Linked DNA regions of Homo sapiens: regions 1, 2, 3, 4, 5 and 6 are each linked to region 7. Evidence: promoter capture Hi-C in 16 types of primary human blood cells and fetal thymus (Javierre and others, 2016). All regions are on one chromosome and are shown on one strand. The core of a region is centred on a gene start or on the middle of the fragment in contact, and the rest is flanking DNA. Distances in the headings are between cores, read along the strand shown. Region 1 overlaps DARS1 (aspartyl-tRNA synthetase 1). Region 2 overlaps R3HDM1 (R3H domain containing 1). Region 3 overlaps DARS1 (aspartyl-tRNA synthetase 1). Region 4 overlaps UBXN4 (UBX domain protein 4). Region 5 overlaps MCM6 (minichromosome maintenance complex component 6). Region 6 has its middle 8.4 kb from the start of MCM6. Region 7 holds the start of SPOPL (speckle type BTB/POZ protein like).

Region 1 (3,092 bases), core at 521-3,020, 2.6 Mb before region 7:
TATAAACACCTCTATGCAAATAAACTAGAAAGTCTAGAAGAAATGGATAAATTCCTGGACACATACACCCTCCCAAGACTAAACCAGGAAGAAGCTGAATCCCTCAATAGACCAATAACAGGCTCTGAAATTGAGGCAATAATCAATAGCCTACCAACCAAAAAAAGTCCAGGACCAGACGGATTCACAACTGAATTCTACCAGAGATACAAAGAGGAGCTGGTACCATTCCTTCTGAAACTATTCCAATCAACAGAAAAAGAGGGAATCCTCCCTAACTCATTTTATGAGGTCAGCATCATCCTGATACCAAAGCCTGGCAGAGACATAACAAAAAAAAGAGAATTTTAGACCAATATCCCTGATGAACATCGATGCAAAAATCCTCAATAAAATACTGGCAAAACAAATCCAGCAGCACATCAAAAAGCTTATCCACTACCATTAAGCTGGCTTTATCCCTGGGATGTAAGGCTGGTTTAACATATGCAAATCAATAAACGTAATCCAGCATATAAACAGAACCAAAGACAAAAACCACATGATTATCTCAATAGATGCAGAGAAGGCCTTTGACAAAATTCAACAGCCCTTCATGCTAAAAACTCTTAATAAACTAGGTATAGATGAGACGTATCTCAAAATAATAAGAGCTATCTATGACAAACCCACAGCCAATATCATACTGAATGGTCAAAAACTGGAAGTATTCCCTTTGAAAACTGGCACAAGACAGGTATGTCCTCTCTCACCACTCCTATTCAACACAGTGTTGGAAGTTCTGGCCAGGGCAATCAGGCACGAGAAAGGAATAAAGGGTATTCAATTAGGAAAAGAGCAAGTCAAATTGTCCCTGTTTGCAGATGACATGATTGTATATTTAGAAAACCCCATCGTCTCAGGCCAAAACCTCCTTAAGCTGATACGCAACTTCAGCAAAGTCTCAGGATACAAAATCAATGTACAAAAATCACAAGCCTTCCTATACACCAATAACAAACAAACAGAGAGCCAAATCATGAGTGAACTCCCATTCACAATTGCTTCAAAGAGAATAAAATACCTAGGAATCCAACTTACAAGGGATGTGAAGGACCTCTTCAAGGAGAACTACAAACCACTGCTCAACAAAATAAAAGAGGACACAAACAAATGGAAGAACATTGCATGCACATGGATAGGAAGAATCAATATTGTGAAAATGGCCATACTGCCCAAGGTAATTTATAGATTCAATGCCATCCCCATCAAGCTACCAAGGACTTTCTTCACAGAATTGGAAAAAACTACTTTAAAGTTCATATGGAACCAAAAAAGAGCCTGCATTGCGAAGACAATCCTAAGCCAAAAGAACAAAACTGGAGGCACCACGCTACCTGACTTCAAACTATACTACAAGGCTACAGTAACCAAAACAGCATGGTACTGGTACCAAAACAGATATAGATCAATGGAACAGAACAGAGCCCTCAGAAATAACACCGCATATCTACAACTATCTCATATTTGACAAACCTGAGAAAAACAAGCAATGGGGAAAGGATTCCCTATTTAATAAATGGTGCTGGGAAAACTGGCTAGCCATATGTAGAAAGCTGAAACTGGATCCCTTCCTTACACCTTATACAAGAATTAATTCAAGATGGATTAAAGACTTAAACGTTAGACCTAAAACCATAAAAACCCTAGAAGAAAACCTAGGCATTACCATTCAGGACATAGGCATGGGCAAGGACTTCATGTCTAAAACACCAAAAGCAATGGCAACAAAAGCCAAAATTGACAAATGGGATCTAATTAAACTAAAGAGCTTCTGCACAGCAAAAGAAACTACCATCAGAGTGAACAGGCAACCTACAAAATGGGAGAAAATTTTCACAACCTACTCATCTGACAAAGGGCTAATATTCAGAATCTACAATGAACTCCAACAAATTTACAAGAAAAAAACAACCCCATCAAAAAGTGGGCAAAGGATATGAACAGACACTTCTCAAAAGAAGACATTTATGCAGCCAAAAGACACATGAAAAAATGCTCATCATCACTGGCCATCAGAGAAATGCAAATCAAAACCAATGAGATACCATCTCACACCAGTTAGAATGGCGATCATTAAAAAGTCAGGAAACAACAGGTGCTGGAGAGGATGTGGAGAAATAGGAACACTTTTACACTGTTGGTGGGACTGTAAACGAGTTCAACCATTGTGGAAGTCAGTGTGGTGATTCCTCAGGGATCTAGAACTAGAAATACCATTTGACCCAGCCATCCCATTACTGGGTATATACCCAAAGGATTATAAATCATGCTGCTATAAAGACACATGCACACGTACGTTTATTGCGGCACTATTCGCAATAGCAAAAACTTGATACCAACCCAAATGTCCATCAATGATAGACTGGATTAAGAAAATGTGGCACATATACACCATGGAATACTATGCAGCCATAAAAAAGGATGAGTTCATGTCCTTTGTAGGGACGTGGATGAAGCTGGAAACCATCATTCTCAGCAAACTATCACAAGGGCAGAAAACCAAACACCGCATGTTCTCACTCATAGGTGGGAATTGAACAATGAGATCACTTGGACACAGGAAGGGGAACATCACACATCAGGGCCTGTAGTGGGGTGGGGGGAGGGGGGAGGGACAGCATCAGGAGATATACCTAATGTAAATGACGAGTTAATGGGTGCAGCACACCAACATGGCGCATGTATACATATGTAGCAAACCTGCACGTTGTGCACATGTATCCTAGAACTTAAAGTATAAAAATAAAGGAAAAGTAAAAATGGAAACTGAAAAATAAAATAAAATAAAAGTACATCATCAAAAAACTTATAGCAAGATAGGTCCATTATTATTCACTTATATTGGTGAGTAGTTTTTCAGATGTGTTTTGTATTTTTCCCTATGTGGCTGTGGTAGACTGTTTGCAAAAATGGCTGCAATACTTCCTCTTGCTCCTGCATGTATATTCCCCTGCAATCATGTTGCTTTTCCTCCCATCAAGGGCTAGAATCTATTTCTCTACCCCTTAAATCTAAGTTTTGCTGTGTGACTTTGACGAGTGGAATATTTA
Region 2 (3,114 bases), core at 44-2,543, 2.9 Mb before region 7:
TTCACCTGTTCGCCTCTAGAGCTTAGTATCCTAGAGTATATCAAGTTGCATCTATTTTATCTTCCCTTTAAAAAAGTAAAGTAAAATTTTAAAATCTTTAATTAAATATTTAAACTATGGGTTTTCTTTATTGAAAGGGTAAACCATGCCCAAGTCATTTACTGTTCTCATTTCAGGATTTTCCTGTAGGTATTTTTTCTATTTTTACCTTTGTTGTTTTTTTATTTTTGATTTTTTTTAGAGATAACGTCTCACTCTGTTGCCCAGGCTGGAGTGCAGAGGCACAGTCATAGCTCACTGCAGCCTCAAATTCCTGGGCTCAGGTAATTCTCGCACCTCACACTCCCAAGTAGCTGGGACTGCAGGCGTGCATCACCACACCTGGCTTTTTTTTTTTTTTTTTTTTTTTTGCAGGGGAGAGATAGGATCTTACTCTTTTGACCAGCCTGGTCTCGAACTCCTGGCCTAAAGGGATCCTCCTGCCTTGGCCTCCCAAAGTGCTGGGATTACAGGCCTGAGCCACCATGCCTGGCCACATTTTTGTGTTTTTTTGTTTGAGACAGGGTCTTACTCTGTCACCCAGGCTGAAGTGCAGTGGTTCAATCACGCCTCACTGCAGCCTCAACTTCCCCAGACTCAGGTGATTCTCCCACCTCAGCCTCACAGGTAGCTGGGACTATAGGCACATGCCACCATGTCCACTAATTTTTTGTAGATATGGAATTTCACCATGTTGCCCAGGCTGGTCTCAAACTTCTGGGCTTAAGTGATCCGCCCACCTTGGCCTCCCAAAGTGCTGGGATTATAGGAGTAAGCCACTGCACCTGGCCACAGTTTTTTTGTTTGTTTGAGGCGGAGTTTTGCCCTTGTTGCCCAGGCTGGAGTGCAGTTGTGTAATCTCCGCTCACTGCATCCTCCACCTCGCAGGTTCGAGTGATTCTCCTGCCTCAGCCTCCCGAGTAGCTGGGATTACAGTGTCCGTCACTACACCCGGCTAATTTTTTGTATTTTTAGTAGAGACATGGTTTCACCATGTTGGCCAGGCTGGTCTCGAACTCCTGACCTCAGGTGATCTACCCGCCTTGGCCTCCCAAAGTGCTGGAATTACAGGCGTGAGCCACTTGTGCCCGGCCTGGCCACAGTTTTTTTAACCTTTGAAATAGAGTTAGTATTCATACAAGTTTAACAATACTTTTTTAAAAGAAACAGTTTTTCATTTAAAAAACACTTCTATTCATAGGGCGTATTGGTGACCTCTCGGAAGAAAGGGATAAGGAGTCGTCACTTGGCCGGTAAGGGAAATAGACTCAAGTGGATGAGGTCCAACGATTCAGTCTTGAGATTTCACTGCCCTAAAAGTCAAATAATGTGTAAGAGGACAGCGAAGGGAAGACTTCCTCCTCCCCCACCCCCACCTCAGGAAATCCTGATCTTAATTCTCACTCTGTATACCCAGTCACTCAAACCAGAAACTTGGGCATCATATCTCCTCTGTCTCCTCCAGTCCAGTCACTTACTAAGTCCTGCAGTTTTTACTGTGGCCTATTTAAGTTTCAGTGGTTTAATATTCTGGAATACATAGGCTAGATTTGCCCTACTCTGTAGGAATAAATCAGAGTAGATGGTGATGTTTGTCAGTTAAAACTATTAAGAATGTAGAAGATTTTTTTTAATTTCGCAATTACTGCCAGGCACGGCAGCTCATGCCTGTAATCCCAGCACTTTGGGAGGCCGAGGCGGGTGGATCACAAGGTCAGGAGTTCGAGACCAGCCTGGACAACATAGTGAAACCCCATCTCTACTAAAAATAGAAAAATTAGCCAGGCATGGTGGCGCACGCCTGTAGTACCAGCTACCTGGGAGGCTGAGGCAGGAGAATTGCTTGAACCCGGGAGGCAGAGGTTGCAGTGAGCCAAGATTGAGCCACTGCACTCCAGCCTGGGCAACAAAATGAGACTCCATCTAAAAAAAAAAAAATTCATAATCACAGAGAAATAGGTAGTATATCAAAGTAGTTAAGCACATGGATTATAGAGCCAGACCACTCACTTCAGATACTAGACTCTACCGCTCACTGGTTGTGTGACCTTAAACAAGTTAGTTAACCTATCTGTCTCAGTTTTCCCAGCTCAGAGATTAGGATGTTAGTACAACTTGCCTCATAGGGAATGCTTAGAACATACCTTTCATATAGTAAGCTCTTTTTTTTTTGTTGTTGTTTTTTTTGGAGAGGGAGTCTCGCTCTGTCACTCAGGCTGGAGTTCAGTGGCACAGTCTCGGCTCACTGCAAGCTCCGCCTCCTGGGTTCACGCCATTCTCCTGCCTCAGCCTCCCGAGTAGCTGGGACTACAGGTGCCCACCAACATGCCTGGCTAATTTTTTGTATTTTTAGTAGAGACTGGGTTTCAACATGTTAGCCAGGATGGTCTCGATCTCTTGACCTCGTGATCTGTCCGCCTCGGCCTCCCAAAGTGCTGGGATTACAGGCGTGAGCCACCATGCCCGGCCAGTAAGCTCTTTTTAAGTGTTAACTCTTGATCCATTTGTTGTTTTCATTCAAGAATTAGAAAAATCGATTTCCTCAGCTGATGATTTTGAATTAACTATTGATTGTAAACATCTCTTTTATTTACTAGGATATTTGAGATGAGGAATTTTAAACAACTAAATTATTCTTATTTTCTGCCACTTAAGCTTGTGTTCCACCAACTGCATCTAGAATAATTCTCTGACCTTTCATTTGCTACACAAGTTCAGTTATCTCAGTATTAAATGTCATGTAGGGTAGTAAAGTATCTTCCATGTGTAATGATGTGTCTGTATGCTGTAGGAATACATAAGCAAATATTGCCTTCTACTTTGTGGCCCATGTACTTGCAAACAAAAAATCTTTCATTTGATTTCTGTTAGTGATTAGATGACTGTGTTACAGTTACCTTCAGCCTCTCAAGAATCTATTTTGTATAACTTAATTAGCAGCTGAAAAGAGGAGAGAAAACTTGTTTATATACTCAAAGGGAAAGAAGAACTTTTTTGGAAAAACAAATTATGGATTGCATTGTGCATCCCACACCTAATGCTAGAATCAGTTCCCCTTTACAACTGTCTGAGGAC
Region 3 (3,511 bases), core at 376-2,875, 2.5 Mb before region 7:
GTCTCGCTCTGTCGCCCAGGCTGGAGTGCAGTGGCACAATCTTGGCTCACTGCAACCTTCGCCTCCTGGGTTCAACCGATTCTCCTGCCTCAGCCTCCCGAGTAGCTGGGACTACATGTGCCCGCCACCATGCCTGGCTAATTTTTTGTATTTTTAGTAGAGACGGGTGTTAGCCAGGATGGTCTTGATCTCCTGACCTCGTGATCTGCCCGCCTCGGCCTCCCAAAGTACTGGGATTACAGGTATGAGCCACCACGCTCGGCCGACTAATTTAAAAAAAATTTTTTTGGTAGAGATGGGGTTTCGCCATGTTGGCCAGGCTGGTCTCAAACTTCTGGGTTCAAGTGAACGGCCCATTTTGGCCTCCCAAATTGCTGGGATTACAGGCATGAGCCACCATGCCCAGCTGATCCAAAATAAGCGTGGTGAGAAGTATGCACTACTCAACAAGGCACAGACCAGCAGTTCTAAAACTACTCTATAGGTTCTCTTTAGTGGAATAAAAAATGTCAGCAAACCCCATTAATCACTTAAATAAGTTCTGTCATGTTACTTAAAGACCTACAAATACCAAACTACTGTAAATGCTTATGCTTATAGCCCTTAACTTTAAAATAGAAATAAATTTTTAAATAAAAACAAAATTCAAATTAATAAGTAATATTAATTTTTAATTTCACTAAAACTAAATTGCTGACATTTGGTTTACTCTATAAAGCTTGTAGCCTTAGAGCCAGTTCCATAATTAATTTGTTTCTGTATTCTGACTTCAATACTAGTAATGGGAAGAATACCTGTTCAGTTACCTAAAACATTAACTTTGAGGTAGAGTCAGGATATTTCAGCTTCACAATTAACCAAAATTCTGCAAAGAGTAATCTAAGAATGACAATTTAAATAAAGTATCAGTCAATCATTTTATAAAACTGTCTTACTTATGTGAAAGTTAATGTGGCATTGTTAGTTAAAATTTGTATCAAATGAATTATCAAGTATCTGAACTTAACTGGAACTAGAAATAGAAACATTTTTCCTTGCATCCAACTGTTATACTACTAGTGATCTGCTGCCTAAACAAGTGACCTCAAAGATAAATGTATGAAAGCTACCTTAATTTTTGCTTTCACAATTTTAGCGCATACCCATTTTATGCGCTAAAACACAGTTAACAATTTTTAGGAAAAGGATTTTAAAAGACAAAGAAAAACCCCATATATCTTTTCCCTAAAAAAGTTCTAAAAAGTTCTTGCCGAAGTCTAAAAGTAGACTTCTCCTACCAAGAAGGATCAGGATTTCTGAACTATCTTAGAAGTATAGGTTACATCACACAGAAAGGACAAACTGACTGACCCATCTGGAACATAAAATCATGTTCCTAAGAAAATTATCTTAACCAACTACAAAACCTAAAAACTCATCATTTTTTGCCAACGAGTCTTAGCCATAAGAATTTTCCTTTTTCGCAAGATAGCAAAAGCCATTAACCCACCTACTGGTAATTATTCAGGCTCGATTCCTTAACATGCTAGTGCCAAAAGTTTAATAATAGTTATCTATGTACCACATGTTGAACCTATTGTATAAAATTGGCTCCATTCACTTACATATAACCAGTGACAAGGTTTATAATTTGGAACAGCTCAACCTTTTCCTACACATTGCTACTTTATATAAAGTCCATTTTTTAAAGGGACTAAAAATAGCTGCATGTCCTTTGCTTAAAAAAAAAAAAATCAAGTCACAATTTAGTTAAGCCTGAACTGCATCTAGATCCTTATGGAGTTCCACTTCAGGAATTAAAAAATCTAGGCTAAATTACCTATATTCTTCCCTTGTCTAAAAGAAAGATCACCCATGGCCGGCTGCGGTGGCTCATGCCTGTAATCCCAGCACTTTGAACAGCTGAGGCGGGCGGATCACCTGAGGTTGGGAGTTCAAGACCAGCCTGACCAACATGGAGAAACCTCGTCTCTACTAAAAATACAAAAGTAGCTGGGCATGGTGGTGGCATATGCCTGTAATCCCAGCTACTGGGGAGGCTGAGGCAGGAGAATTGCTTGAACCGGGTAGGAGGTTGCGATGAGCGGAGACCACGCCATTGCACTCCAGCCTGGGCAACAAGAGTGAAACTCCGTCTCAAAAAAAAAAAAAAAAAAAAAAAAAAAAAAAAAAAAAAAAAGATCGCCCGTATATCATCCCATTTGGATGAAAGCCTTTAATAAAATAATGATAAAAAGATGTTCTTTAATTTTATGAGGGCATTAGTGAACTAAGTTCTGTTTGGGAGACCATTTGAAAGTAGCTCTTTTAGCTATTAAGCTATGGTTGACATCTGATATAGTCAATCGCTGTTATTTAGTCAAGTCCCAGGAGTTTCTGAGAAGATCCAAAATAATAGGAATAACTTATTTGCGGAGTACTTTAACGTGTCTGCTTCTAAACACATCACATGGATTAACCGTCCACTTGTCAGTAGAATGCCTCTCACTGAATATTATGGGTAACTGGGATTTTCAAAAGGCTTTTCCACTGGAAGCTTTAGGAATGTAACGCCGAGGTTATAATGCAGTTTAATGGAAAAATATATTCTCTATGTAACTGTCGGCTTCATGTATTAGTTTTCAAAACCAAATTATTATACAAAAGTTGTTTGTTGATTTGAGGTTGACTTTTTTCCAGTATTTTTCAGTATATTTAATAGAATTTAGCATCTATGTCTGCGGTTTCCAGGACCATCTTTTTTTCTTTTATAGAAGGTTCTCTGTGCAGATAAAATTTCTAGGGACCAAGCTCATTTATGTTTGACTTCATAGGATACACACTAACCTTAAAAGGTTGGAAGACAAATGCACCCCACAAGCACACACTCTAACCAGGAGACGAAACAAGCAAACCTAATTACCAGAAGACACACGTAGAAGAAAAGTGGTCATCTCTGGGCAGCACTGGGAGATAGGGAGAGGTGGGGCTACTGTATTAGTAGTATTAAAATACTACTGATCTCATCAATGAATCGATACAATTCATGGCACTTAAGTTCTTAAATCCGAGTGCAGGTATTACTATGACGTAATTTGATAAATATCTAAACCAAAACCAGCTGCTGAGCATCCTTTATATGTATAACATTGTGCTAGAGGGTCAGGGAGGGCTGAAAGCTAAATTACGATATTGAATTAGATAATTTTTAAGTTTCTTTCCAATTCTAAAATTCATAATTCCATCTGTATTAACTCATTCTTAGAAAGCATGCATCTAAAAAGCAAACATTTAAAAAAATCAATAGAAAAAATATATCATTTACTCTGATTGAATTCTTTCTTTTAAAAAACACTTACACACTATGAAATTACTTTATTACTTAAAACACAAAGACCATCCATTTTCTCATGTTTTCTGAGATCATTATCATGGAAATAAAATTCTGATGAAATTGAAAAAAAACATGAAACAAAATTAGCCACATCACCACTACCAAGTAAAACAGCTCTCATCACCTTAGAGCCACTGC
Region 4 (3,225 bases), core at 686-3,185, 2.7 Mb before region 7:
ATTTCCACTTCCATTTTCTCTAACTTAATGATATTGTTAGAGAATATATAGAGGTGAAGATTGTGACTTTAATTTTCTTTTTTCATAGCACTGTTGCAAGAATTCAATTCCGTCTTCCTGATGGTTCTTCCTTTACAAATCAGTTCCCTTCTGATGCTCCTCTAGAAGAGGCAAGGCAGTTTGCTGCACAGGTAAATTTATGTCTTGAGTTGTAGTAAAAATAGATGTGTAGGTTACTAAATTATAGGAAGGGAAAATTTCAAAGCAGAAGTTGAATGTGAGTGAATTGTGACCTCTCCAGGAGGGAGGCACAAGACGCCTCTGAGATATTGTGGAAATTCTGTCGGGTGTTAGTGCATATGGGAGTAACATATCTGCTTTGTGTGCAGAAGTAGGAATTTGCTGATATTGTATAATAGGTCCTGGGAACTTTTCTTTTTTAAAATTTTTTGAGACAGGATCTCACTGTGTCGCCTAGGCTGGAGTGCAGTGGTGCGATCACAGCTCCCTGCAGCCTCGACCTCCTGGGCTCAAGCGACCCTCCCACCTCAGCCTCCTAAGTAGCTGGAACTTACAGGCATGTACTGCCATGCCCGGCTAATTTTTGTACTTTTTGTAGAGACAGGGTTTCACCATGTAGCCGGGCTGGTCTTGAACTCCTGGGCTCAAGCATTCCTCCCACCTCAGCCTCGCAGTGCGTTGGGATTACAGGCGTGAGCCACCCAGCCCAGCCACTGGGAACTTTTTTCACTGATTAGTAGACTCATTGAAGGAGTGACAGGCAAGTGATTTCCCGAAGGTCTGATGTGAGGGAATTGTCCCACTCCCCTGAAATGGAAGCAGTTTTTCTCACTCCTCTCTCCATTTCCTACAGATTGCTTAGGGGCTGGTCATTTTCCTACGATTTACCTTTTGGCTAAGGAAAAAGAGGCAGTAAACTTTATTTGACAATAGTATCTTCTTCAGGAATTTACTTCCAAAAGGTGGCCTTACTCAGAATCTGAATGGAGTATATATCTTGAGATATGAGTAGTTTTCAATTTATTTTTATTCCCTGATTGATTCCTTATTCAAAACGGATTCTGAGCATCAGATGTCCTTTGGGTTCTAGGCTCATTATATGTATCAGTATTTTTTTCATATATATAATTTCAAGGTTAAAATTAGGGATTTGGGTTCAGATCTTTCCGCCAGACCTTTTCTCCACATTTGGTCGTCTTCTTGCACTCGTGAACTAGGCTGGACAATGTAAACGTTTATTTTAAAAACTGTTTCCCCCTAAGCTTTATAGTAGAAACAGTCCCAAATAGGTGCTTTCATTCTTCTTTTGTCTTGGAGCCTCCCACAATGTGTCCCCTGTCCTGAGTTTCACTGCTTTTGCCACAGGTAAATGGAGAAGGGACTACATCTTTGATTGCATGTGTCCTATTAAAACTCCACCTCAGGCCAGGCATGGTGGCTCACGCCTGTAATCCCAGCATTTTGGGAGGCCGAGGTGGGTGGATCACAAGGTCAGGAGTTTGAGACCAGGCTGACCAACATGGTGACCCCATCTATTCTAAAAATACAAAAATTAGCCGGGCGTGGTGGTGGGCGCCTGTAATCCCAGCTTCTCGGGAGGCTGAGGCAGGAGAATCGCTTGAACCCAGGAGGCAGAGGTTGCAGTGAGCTGAGATTGCGCCACTGTACTCCAGTCTGTGCAACAGAGCAAGACTCCATCTCAAAAAAAACAACAGGCTGGGCGCAGTGGCTCACGCCTGTAATCCCAGCACTTTGGGAGGCTGAGGTGGGTGGATCACGAGGTCAGGAGATTGAGACCATCCTGGCTAACACGGTGAAACCCCGTCTCTACTAAAAATACAAAAAATTAGCCAGGCGTGGTGGCGGGCGTCTGTAGTCCCAGCTACTCGAGAGGCTGAGGCAGGAGAATGGTGTGAACCCGGGAGGTGGAGCTTGCAGTGAGCCAAGATCGCGCCACTGCACTCCAGCCTGGGCGACAGAGCAAGACTGTCTCAAAAAAAAAAAAAACAAAAAAAAACCCAAAAAACAAAAATTCCACCTCAGTACAGTTATCAAGTTTTGTATTTTGTGTATCTTTAGAACAGTGAGGGGTATGTGTGATCTACAGTAAAAAAAAAAAAATACGAAAAACAAGTTAGTCTCCTTCTTTGGAATCTTCTAGGGAAAGATACACAGATGTCTAAGATTTTACAAGTGATTTTTGTATATAGAGGACTTAAAATTGTGAGGGTGACTTACAGTGCTGTCCATTGTACGTTCCTGGATCTGGTATTGTGTGTATCATGTAGGTTGATTATGGACCATTTATGCCTTGAGACAAGGAGGAGGCTACACTTCCTGAAGGTATATATGAGGGAAATACTGGTCTAGTCCAAATTCTTAATAGGGATTACCTGTAATCCAAATGTGTGTTCATGAGACATTAAGTTTGCCAAAGGATAGTGAAAACCTAATGATGAACTGCAACAGTACTTAAAGGAGATACACAATTGTCCATTTTTACTCAATTTATTTGTGTGTTTTTAGGAACTATATTTTGCTATTTTGTGGTCATCTTTGAGTTACAGAAGCTTTTAAAAACTATTTGGATTTGATAGCTTTTCAGCTGCTTAGGGGCTGGAAGCACAATTTTATACCTTTTTTTGAGTTTACATGTAATGAACTTTTAAAATTAAGGCAATGTTAATTAAAGCATCATTTTGGATTCATCTGAGTAATATCTTACTTTTAAAGGCACTCTTTAAGTTTTTAAAACTTATTTTACAGACTGTTGGCAACACTTACGGTAATTTTTCGTTAGCAACCATGTTTCCCAGGAGGGAATTTACCAAAGAAGATTATAAAAAGAAGTTACTGGATTTGGAACTTGCCCCAAGCGCTTCGGTGGTACTGTTGCCAGTATGTATATACAGATGCATTTTTTTCTCTTCTTATTGTTTTCTGTTTATCATACTCTTCATTTCTTATAATTAGGGGAAAGGAAGTGCACAGATATACTGAAGGTAATTAAAATTCAAGTGATCCAATAATTAGATGAATTTATAATTCCATTATCCTGTGCTTTATTTGTATTGCTGATATTACTTGTGAGACATGAAACAGTTTAATTTTTAACTTTTTTCTTCACATATTTTTGTGTACAAAAAAAATGACCAATAGGAGAAGACAGTAAGAAATGCAGATTATCTGTCTAATCCACACACT
Region 5 (3,334 bases), core at 530-3,029, 2.6 Mb before region 7:
AAAGATTGTGGTATAGATTTTTATCTTGACTCATCTCAAACACTTTCTCCCATTCTTTCACAGTCATTTGGTTCTTAATGCTCTCAGCTGTCTGTTCCTCATCTCTGAGCTCTTTCCCCCCAAACTAATGGTAGAGAACAAAGGAAGAATCATTAGTATAGAAGCAGTCAAAAGAGCATAAAGGAGAAGAAACTTCATTACAAACACAACATAGCATGGGAAGTCAACCTCACAATTTATTGACTGTAAAGGTTTAAAAAAAAACAACTCCCCAAACTAGTAAGCCCTCAGTTAACAAAGACACTTAAGGGTATGTCATTTGTCCAGTGAGTTAAATAGAAAAAAAGCTACCTGAATGCTCAAGAGATAAGCGATAGCAGAATGTTAATCACTGACATAAAGATGCAAATAAAATAAGAGAATATTATGTTCACTCCCTTTTTCCAATACTGAACTATTTTCCAAACTCCCATTTATGACACAGAATCAAGTTAACTGAATGATACTGCCAGGGGTTCATCATTCTCAGAAGTTTACTTCCCAGATTACTAAATCTTTTTATTTGTATTTCCTCCAGAAGAATAACAGAGGAACTATGAAACTTTAAAACAAAAAACAGCGTGGATAATTTGTACCACTGCACTTAAAAGCATTGAGCTTTTATGTAAGACATCAAATAAGACTTTTTTTCAAGATCAGAAAGGCATACGTCAAAAGATTTGGTTTTAAAACTCATCAAATCTTAACCCCATCCCGTGCTCTCAACATTGATGAGACAGCCCAGATGTTTCAGAATCCTATCATTTCGTGGCAGCTCAGGGTAGGTGTTTCTTAAGCTGTCACTCTACTAAGACTCACTGTTGGCCTGCCTGGCCAACAGAGCAAGACCTCATCTCTAAAAAAGTTTTTTTAATTAGCTGGGTGCAGTGATTCACACCTATAATCCCAGCTACTCAGGAGGTTGAGATGGTAGGATCACTTGAGCCCAGAAAGTGGAGGCTACAGTGAGCCATGACTTTGCCATTGCACTCCAGCCTGGGTGACAGAGAGAGACTGTTTCAAAAACAAACAAAAACCCCCAAAACGACTGACCCTTGGGTTGGTTGGCGCAACACAGCAGGCAAGAAAGACCAGCCTATAAGAAAGGTCCCTAACACCAAGGGCCCGGAGTCCTCGAATGCCTTCTGTCTCATATCCATCAACACCACTGACACGGGAATTAGTTTCTGCACGTGCTCCTGAAACAGAATGATAGGTTGTTTCACAACTTAAATATTAAAGGTGCTGAACATCAAAATTGCTCAAATAAATGAAAGCTATAAATCCAAAGACTTCACTTAAGCCTTGAATACTTTCAGAATAGCACCATTTGTGGCAAAACCAATTTGTTTTTATTCTCATCACACTTCGTTCCTCAGCTTCTGATTGGTAGCCAAAAAGAAGACAATGAAGATGTGGGAAGCTAGATACTGTGCAGTTTAGGTAACTGAGAATTTGTTAAATTTGAGCCACAGATTACTGACCTGGTGTGCTAAGCTTGGAGACGTCAGGCACAACAATCAGTGTCCCTGTAAAGTCACACTTGTCACCAGCTTGAGCTGATTCCACAGCTTCAGCCCTTAAAATTACTTCTAAACTGCGGGGGATACTCCCTCGAGGAAGCTCAGCTTGGGTCTCTTGAATACGAACCTGTAATACAGACAAACAACCAACCAAGAATGAGAAGCAATACCTTTCAGATGCCATATAATCTAAATTAAATACCACAAATACGGACGTATTCTAAACTATCTGACCCATTAGCAGACTTTTCACATGTACCAACATTTATCCTAAAAATTATCTACTCTAAAACTCCTTTTAGTCAAATAGTTCAATTTGGCAAGAGATTACATCTATTTAAAAACTCCATGATGATTCAAGCAGCAGAGAAAAAAAAAACTTCACTTTTACTCATTAAAAAATAATTTTTTTCTTTGTTCAAAATGACTCCAAATATCTGTTCCATGCTCCATCTTCTCCTAAGCTTTAAGATAATTTTACAGAAAATTTCAAATACACCTTTTATACCCTCCACTTCAACACAACTGCTAACATTATTTACAGATACATGTTTTTTTACTATGTATTTGAACACAGTTGTGAACATCAAGAAACTTCATACCTAAATATTTTAGCATTCATCTCTAAGAATAAAGACAATCCTGTTACAATATCATTATCACAACCAAGATAATTAAACAATATTTAATTTCATAAAATTACATATCTTCTATTATCTAGTCCATCTTCAAATGTCTTGTCAAGAGTGTCCTTTATACAGTTGTGTTCCCCCCCCCAAACTAAGACCCAATCTAGATTCATACTTTATAAGATAAGACATCTCCTACCCAAAGCTGTTGGTAAAATATGTGCATCTTATAAGCTACCAGGTTAATGTAAGAAAGCCAAATAAGGAGAATGATTATCAGAGCAATATAAATAATATTAAATTCATCTGATAATAATTATTCCATACTTGAGCTGCTTCAGCTTTTCTTTCCATTTTGTATGTCCCATAAAATTAAGTCCTGCTGAAATCTGAGGGTCCCCTTCATTCTTACTACTGCCATCCATCACCTCTTGCCCAGGTAACTGAAATTGCCTATTACCCTCTGTTAAACCCATCACGGACTTATTCAGTTTGCTTTTAAAAAAAAACACACAGGCTGGGTGCAGTGGCTCACGCCTGTATCCCAGCACTTTGGGAGGCAGAGGCAGGCGGATCACGAAGTCAGGAGATCGAGACCATCCTGGTTTAACACGATGAAACCCTGTCTCTACTAAAAATACAAAAAATTAGCCGGGTGTGGTGGTGGGCACCTGTAGTCCCAGCTACTCGGGAGGCTGAGGCAGGAGAATGGCGTGAACCCAGGAGGCGGAGCTTGCAGTGAGCCGAGATCGCGCCACTGCACTCCAGCCTGGGTGACAGAGAGAGACTGTCTCAAAAAAAAACAAAAAACAAAACAAAACAAACACACACCCACACACACAAACTACCTTCCCACTATATTCCCACTGCTTATTAAGATAGGCTCAAACTCCTCAGCCTAAGATTTAGGGATCCAAGTACCTCCAGGTCTCACATCAAATCATCTCTCAGATGATCTCCAATTTGGCTCCTTTACTTCAATCATGATAATCCTCATTGCTTCCAAGCTAGCCTGTCCTATTCATGCTTTCCTTTCTATGCAGCAAATGGAAATCTTACACTAACAAGTTGCTATTTCTTTAAGTTTTCTTAACTCCAGTTCATAATGACAACCACCACCACCTAGTTACCATTTATTCTTTG
Region 6 (3,337 bases), core at 799-3,298, 2.6 Mb before region 7:
GAACAAAACAGACACAAGTCCCTGCTTCTCATGAAGCTTACATTCTAGGGGGCGAGGTGCACTGGAGCACACTGAAGAGTTTGATACAATTCATTCCTTCTTGATTTTGAGCCTCAACAAGAAAATTGCTTCTGTTACTATATTACAGAGCCCAAGAATCACCCAGTATTTCAGAGAGATTTAAAACCCATCTCCATGGCTTGAGATTGAAAAAGAAAATTTCACATGCCACTCTTCTAGACATAAAAGAGATCTGTACTCCTCATGTGCAGCTGTAGGAGGCTGCACAGGCAGCATGGGTTGACCTTCACTTTCATTAGCCCCAGGAGATATCCTAGAAATAGCAGACCATTAAGTCTCACGTATGGTCCATGAAAAAAAAAAAATAACAGACCACTGGGTTGACAGGGAGCTCAGAAAAAGGTGCACTTTCAAGCAATTCAGGTGGAACCAAATGAAACATTTTTTCTGATCTGAATGCAAGTTATTCTGAAGTAATTAAAACAAAACATGAAACAAAAAAACCAAAATGAGCCCATGGTGCTCTCAGCAGTTGCAGAGAGGATTGTATGAGTGGTGGCAGCTTTGTAGAAAGCATTTAGTTGCACAGTATGTGGCAGGCATCAAGGATGGCTAGTTTGATTCCTAGTGTGACTTCAACTAAAATGTCCAAGGGCATGGTATGTGGGGGTTTTGTTGTTAGGTTCCTAATTAACAAGAATGAAGGGCTGACGTGTTCTATGATATGATTCGTCTCAGTGTGTGCATTCTGTCCTTCAGTCTTCTGCTGTCCTTCAGTCCATCCTACTGTCTGGGTATCCTGCAGTGGGCAGCCATGTTTGTGGATAGGGCTCCTGGAAACTTACAACCTAATGGTGGAGGCAGGATATGAACACAACTACAATTTGCAGAGTGATATGCAACTGTACCAAAAAACATAAAGTGTAAAGTGAAATCAAAGTACAAGGTTACAGTAGAAATAAAGGATCCTAATTAGGATATTTACTGTAAAAAGAGATAATCTACTGGGAGGCCAAAAAAATCACTGATTTCTTATTTTATAGCAAATTATAATTTAAAATTGCAAAAAATATACATTCATTGAAGGAAAGCAGAAATACAGAAAAGCAAAAAGAATAAAAACCACCCCAAATTGTACCACACAGAAATATTATTTAATATTTTGATGAATTTCATCCTTTCATATGAATTTCATTATTGTATAAGCTCCTTTTAAAATAAATTCAGGCTAGGTGCAGTGGCTCACGTCTGTAATTTCAGCACTTTGGGAGGCCAAGGCGGGTGGATCACTTGAGGTTAGGAGTTCGAAAGCAGCATGGCCAACATGGTGAAACCCTGTCTCTACTAAAAATACAAAAATTAGCTAGGTGTGGTGGTGCACCTGTAATCCCAGCTACTTGGGAGGCTGAGGCAGGAGAATCCCTTGAACCTGAGAGGCAGAGGTTGCAGTGAGCTGAGAAGTCACCACTGCACTCCAGCCTGGGTGACAGAGTGAGACCCCATCTCAAAAAATAAATAAATAAATAATAAAAGAAATTCAACAGTATATCATAAACATCTTTTCAGTTGATAAATATATTTCTGTATTATTTTAATGGCTACGTCTATTACTATAAAGACCATCCATGTAGTATATTTTTACAAATTTAAATCTTTAGATAATTTTGATGAGAAATTAATGAGTCAAAGGGGAGTCACATTTTTTTTTTTTTTTTTTGAGACGGAATCTCGCTCTGTCGCCCAGGCTGGAGTGCAGTGGCATGATCTGGGCTCACTGCAAGCTCCGCCTCCTGGGTTCATGCCATTCTCCTGCCTCAGCCTCCGGAGTAGCTGGGACTACAGGCACCCACCACCACGCCTGGCTAATTTTATTTTTTTATTTTTAGTAGAGACAGGGTTTCACTGTGTTAGCCAGGATGGTCTCGATCTCCTGACCTCGTGATCCGCCTGCCTCAGCCTCCCAAAGTGCTGGGATTGCAGGTGTGAGCCACCGCGCCCAGCCTGGGAATCACATTTTAATACTCTTAACACATCTGCCAAAGTATCCTCCAGAAAACTTGCACATCCTCACCGGCATATGATAGTGCTGTTACAATTATTTTTCTCCTTGTCAAATTAAAAGGGGAAAAATGAGACCATGTTTACTTCTTACATATATTTTAATAATTTCCTAGGGCACCTCACCAGCTTTCAATCAGTCCAGTTCAGTGGATTGCACTCAACCAGGATTTCTTGGATTGTTCCATTGTATCTTGTACAAGGGTGTTCTCTCCTCTTGCATTTCACACAAAGGGTGCTCACTCTGAGAGTACATCTTCCTCATTGTCTTAGTCCTCAGAAATGGATATCGGTGTGCAGCAGGTTTACTGGGGAGTGCTGTGGGGATCAATAGCTAGTGGGGACAGGGAGAGCATGAATGGGCAGAGGTAGAAGTCAAACTGCTGTGCAGTTGCAACAAAGACCTCGGTGGAGCCCACAGGGAGCTCCGCAGCTCAGATAGCCCTTCAGAGTGGCTCCAAATCAGGCAAGGGGGCTGGGCCTTTTACCCAGCATCAACCAGTCATGGGATGCAGGCTGCCCTTGGGGAAGTAGTGTAAATGTGGGTGAACCAGCTTATTTTAGTCAAGGGTAATTCCTAGGGAGAGAGGAGAGAGGTTAGCTATGAGCTGTCAATAGTCAACGAGGTACTAAAGTAGGTTTCTGGGCTGCACATCATGGCATCCACTAGAGCCCACCCTAGCACCTGCTCTGTATAGTAACAAGACTGCATTTCAGAACAGCACCTACAAGATCCTGGTTGGCCTCTTTTCCTAAGGAAACTTACAAGAGGAAGGCTAATAGGACGAAATTCAGCTGTTGCAGCTGGAGCTGAACTTGAGCCTAAAATTGATACTGATCATGATTCCCTCCTCTACAACCCATTCCTAGATTCCCCTCTTAGCTAGCACCTTTTCTAGTCTAGGTGGTTTACCTGGCGGAGTGACACAGACCTTCATTCCTGAAGGACCTAAGTCTTTGGTCACCATACTTTTTTAGGCCACGGCTGGTATACTTGTCCTTTACTGTCAAAACTGGTTAGTGGTTGTATGAGAAGTGCTGGATTACCTGGGTGTCAAACCTTTATCCTGCTCCCACTGTATAACAGATACCTGACCTCTTCTTGCTGCTCAGGTCAGTTAAACCCACTAATATTATGACTGTTTGGCTTGCCGGCAGGCATGTGGAGCCTGAAATGGCAGAGCAGCAGTGACAGTTTCAAGTTTCAAGGAGCTCTTCTTGTGTCTCCTAGTGCAAGTGTTAGACCTGTGGGAACTAG
Region 7 (3,108 bases), core at 252-2,751:
CCACTGCACTCCAGCCTGGCGTACAAAGCGAGATCCTGTCTCAAACAAACAAAAAGAAAAAAGAAATAAAAAAGACAGCTAATGTAGTATTAATTTGAAATGAGGGGGATCTGCCTGTCCAGTATTCAAATCCCAGTAACCTCTGGATGAATTACTTGCCATTTCTAGTTCTTGTCGCTTAATTTTAAGATGGAAATTTCTACGTTGAAGTTTTAGAGAGGTTGTTGAGAGAACAGAGACGATACAAGTCCATGCTTAGAATACTCAGTACATAGCAAAATAATAAATATTTTCCCTCTGCCCTCTCTCTTTTCTTGGAAAGCCAGGTAAGCAATGAGAAGTTGGTTTATGGCCAGGTGTGGTGGTTCACGCCTGCAAATCCCAGCACTTTGGGAGACCAAGGTGGGAGGATCCCTTGAGCTCAGGAGTTCGAGATCTGCTTGGGCCACATAGCAAGACCTCGTCTCCACAAAAAATTAAGATTACCTGGGCGTGGCACATTCCTGTAGTCCCAGCTACGGGAGGCTGAGTTGGGAGGATCACTTTAGCCTAGGAGGTCGAGGCTGCAGTGAGCTGTGATGGCACCACTGCACTCCAGCCTGGGTGACAGCCCTGTCAAAAACAAAACAAAACAAAAATTGCTGACGTATGCACAGTTAAAGCAAAAAGAGTTGGGATCCTTGAATGACGTTCATGTCTGTTCTGGCAAAGCCGGGATTGTTGGTCCCCCAAACTTCTTTAAAGAAGTTTACTCCTGGTAGCTCGATTAAGTATCTTTGTCCCATGGCCGTGGGGAATAAAAAGTTCAGTTGTCACCCCCTTTTTAAACTAAATGTCCGAAGAGACAAGGCAATCCCATCCTCTCTTCACACATTTGTGCAGGTGCAGCTTTATTTCCCACCGTGCGGTCCCAGGAGGCCGCCTGGTCTTCTGCGCTCACTTCCTAGGCATCCCTGGCCGCCCCTCGGCAGCCTCTCCTTCTGGCCTGAGACTTCCAGCTGAGCCTCATCCCCTCCACCTGAAAACTGCTCCATGGGGCACTTCATCTACCTGGAAAGTTCTCGATTTCCAACTGGAGCCTGTATACTGCTGGTTGTGTCTCAGCAGTTATTACAGCTCTGGGCTTACAACGGGAGCTTAGCAAAAGTTCCACCCTGGCTTCCTAGACTGCTACAGCTCCAAGAAAAATCCTGTGCGCACAAACGGCCGCCGCCTTTGGCGTCTCCCGCGGATTAGACCAGTTAGGAGGTCTCAGTAGGCTTTTAGGCAGGACAAGTTTTACGCCTGGCCAAATAAGGGTCAGACTAAGCAAGGCGCCTCCGTGCGCCTAGCCAGAGCGGTGCCGGCTGCGGAACCTGCCCCGCCGGGAGCCTAGTGCCATGCAGCAGCGGCGGCGGTGGCGGCTTCCCAAGCGCGGCGGCAAATCCGGGCCCGCCCGGAAGTGCCCGGCGCTGTAGGAGGGAGCAAGGGCCCAGGAGCCGCCGCCGCCGCCGCCGCGCGCACGCGCCCTCGCGGGCTGGAGCCGGGGCTGGAGTCGTAACTCGGAAGCCGGAGCCCAGACGGGCCCGCGGCGGGGGGGTGGGGGCTGCGCGGGGGCGGGAGTGGCGGAGGTGGCCGCCCCTGGCGGCGGGTTTGTTTATCCCGGGGAAGAAGTTTAGGAGCGGGAGATAGGGAAGGAGGGCGGGTCGGGGAGGAGGGATGCGGTTCGGCGGAGGCGGCCGCCACAGGGACTTGCCGCCATCACCCCTGCTGCCACCACCGCAGCCTCGGGCTCCCAGGGCGGACACGGCCACCGCCTCAGCGGGAGAGGAGTCTCCACCAGGACTGACCGCTGCCGCCCAGCACGTCCAGGTAGGCGCCCCTTCCCCTCCCCCCAGTCCCCGCGGCAGCCCCAGGCGCTTGCTCCCCTCCCCCGGCTCTCCGTAGACCGGCGGCCTCCTGCTCGCGCCTCACTGCGCCCTCTGCTCTCTGGGTCCCGGACCCCTGCTCGGGCGGCGAGCTCCGGCCTGCTCTGGGGACTACCTCCCACGCCCCCGGACCGCCCTTCCCTCGCGCGGCGGCACCACTTTCCCCGGGGTTGCCCCCAATCCCTCCTTGATTTCCCAGCCTCCACCTTCCAGGATCCCCTTTAGTTTTACCCCCGGGCCTCGCCCCTTCTTTTCCTCTGGCTTCTCTCCTCCTCTATACCTGTATACCTCCACACCTGCCCCTTTTTACCTGAGTGCTGCCCAAAGGCAGAAACTGCATGCTCTGCCACCGCGCAGCGTCCACTTTCATACCTCCTCATCCCAAATACAGACACTTGAAACTCTCGTCCCTGTTAGCCCATTTTAGGCAGAGTTCTCAGCTTCGCAGACCGCTCACTACCTCCAGTCCGGTGGTCATGCCTTTAACCTCTCTTTAACCTGCTTTCTAATACATTTTTGCTCACTTATACCAGAGTACATCAAGCTAACCGCGCGGTTCGGGGTCCAAGTCTTCAAAGAGCCCACTTGTATTCCTGCTGCTCTCCTTTTTCCTAATTCTTTTTGAGTCAATGTATTTGTATATTGATTCAACATAAAAGAAAAGGGAAGGTAGCATTTTCTCTCTCAAAGCAGTCACACAACCCAGTAGAAATAAGATTCACCATCTGCTTATCCTAACTTTCGCTTGTCTCTTTCCTGACTGAACTCTGTCATTCAGTGATTCTTTCCAGGCTTCTGATGCTTTGTCTATTTTTGAATAATCTTGGGCCTAGTTTGACCCATTGTGGTACTCACTTTCCCACTTGCAATTGAATCCACTGTTTCTTGGACTAGAAACTGACAGAGGTAAAAGGTTCATACCTTGAAAAATTACATCTCTCCTGCCACGATGAGATTGGTGGAATATTTCAAATTACCATTTCATCATTCTTGTGAGAAATGTTGCCTAGTGGTTAAGAACTCTTCTCTAGAGCTCAGACTAGTATATAGTTGCCAGGGTGTAAACCCTTGCTCTGCCATCTACCAGCTTTGGCTTTGGGGAAGTTACTTAATATTTCTTCGCCTCAGTATACTTACAGCTGTAAAATGGGGTTATGATATGACATCACAGGATGGTGCTAGTAATTGCACAAGTAAATAC

What was found. Contacts are between HindIII fragments. The CHiCAGO score rates a contact against its expected background, and 5 or more counts as called.
Region 1: a contact is called between a fragment that was not itself captured here and the fragment with the promoter of SPOPL in region 7, in 1 of 17 cell types (total B cells). The highest score is 6.8, in total B cells.
Region 2: a fragment that was not itself captured here is called in contact with the fragment with the promoter of SPOPL in region 7 in 1 of 17 cell types (non-activated CD4 T cells); the score reaches 5.4 in non-activated CD4 T cells.
Region 3: a fragment that was not itself captured here is called in contact with the fragment with the promoter of SPOPL in region 7 in 1 of 17 cell types (total B cells); the score reaches 6.3 in total B cells.
Region 4: a contact is called between a fragment that was not itself captured here and the fragment with the promoter of SPOPL in region 7, in 1 of 17 cell types (neutrophils). The highest score is 6.5, in neutrophils.
Region 5: a fragment that was not itself captured here is called in contact with the fragment with the promoter of SPOPL in region 7 in 1 of 17 cell types (naive B cells); the score reaches 8.0 in naive B cells.
Region 6: a contact is called between a fragment that was not itself captured here and the fragment with the promoter of SPOPL in region 7, in 1 of 17 cell types (neutrophils). The highest score is 7.0, in neutrophils.

The regions. Positions count from the first base shown.
Region 1 is chr2:135,939,871-135,942,962 of GRCh38, forward strand. The region is part of intron 5 of DARS1 (aspartyl-tRNA synthetase 1); the gene reads right to left. Among named protein-coding and RNA genes, the nearest start is that of DARS1-AS1, 44 kb to the right of the region's middle. The HindIII fragment of the contact is 2,684 bases long and covers 429-3,092 here.
Region 2 is chr2:135,567,518-135,570,631 of GRCh38, forward strand. The region is part of intron 1 of R3HDM1 (R3H domain containing 1); the gene reads left to right. Among named protein-coding and RNA genes, the nearest start is that of R3HDM1, 38 kb to the left of the region's middle. The HindIII fragment of the contact is 2,798 bases long and covers 1-2,692 here.
Region 3 is chr2:135,957,254-135,960,764 of GRCh38, forward strand. All of the region lies in intron 4 of DARS1 (aspartyl-tRNA synthetase 1), which reads right to left. Among named protein-coding and RNA genes, the nearest start is that of DARS1-AS1, 26 kb to the right of the region's middle. RefSeq lists a silencer at 3,472-3,511. The HindIII fragment of the contact is 1,818 bases long and covers 717-2,534 here.
Region 4 is chr2:135,776,161-135,779,385 of GRCh38, forward strand. UBXN4 (UBX domain protein 4) reads left to right here. Exons shown (of 13, transcript NM_014607.4): 10 at 89-191; 11 at 2,788-2,919. Among named protein-coding and RNA genes, the nearest start is that of UBXN4, 36 kb to the left of the region's middle. The HindIII fragment of the contact is 1,308 bases long and covers 1,282-2,589 here.
Region 5 is chr2:135,865,040-135,868,373 of GRCh38, forward strand. It overlaps MCM6 (minichromosome maintenance complex component 6), which reads right to left. Exons shown (of 17, transcript NM_005915.6): 5 at 1,524-1,689; 6 at 1,093-1,238; 7 at 1-124. Among named protein-coding and RNA genes, the nearest start is that of MCM6, 9.7 kb to the right of the region's middle. The HindIII fragment of the contact is 490 bases long and covers 1,535-2,024 here.
Region 6 is chr2:135,883,224-135,886,560 of GRCh38, forward strand. No RefSeq gene overlaps it. Among named protein-coding and RNA genes, the nearest start is that of MCM6, 8.4 kb to the left of the region's middle. The HindIII fragment of the contact is 4,028 bases long and covers 35-3,337 here.
Region 7 is chr2:138,500,269-138,503,376 of GRCh38, forward strand. SPOPL (speckle type BTB/POZ protein like) reads left to right here and starts at 1,502. Exons shown (of 11, transcript NM_001001664.3): 1 at 1,502-1,851. It overlaps SPOPL-DT (SPOPL divergent transcript), which reads right to left and starts at 1,427. Exons shown (of 2, transcript NR_187149.1): 1 at 1,051-1,427; 2 at 1-612. RefSeq lists silencers at 1,398-1,937, 2,138-2,187. The HindIII fragment of the contact is 5,215 bases long and covers 1-3,108 here.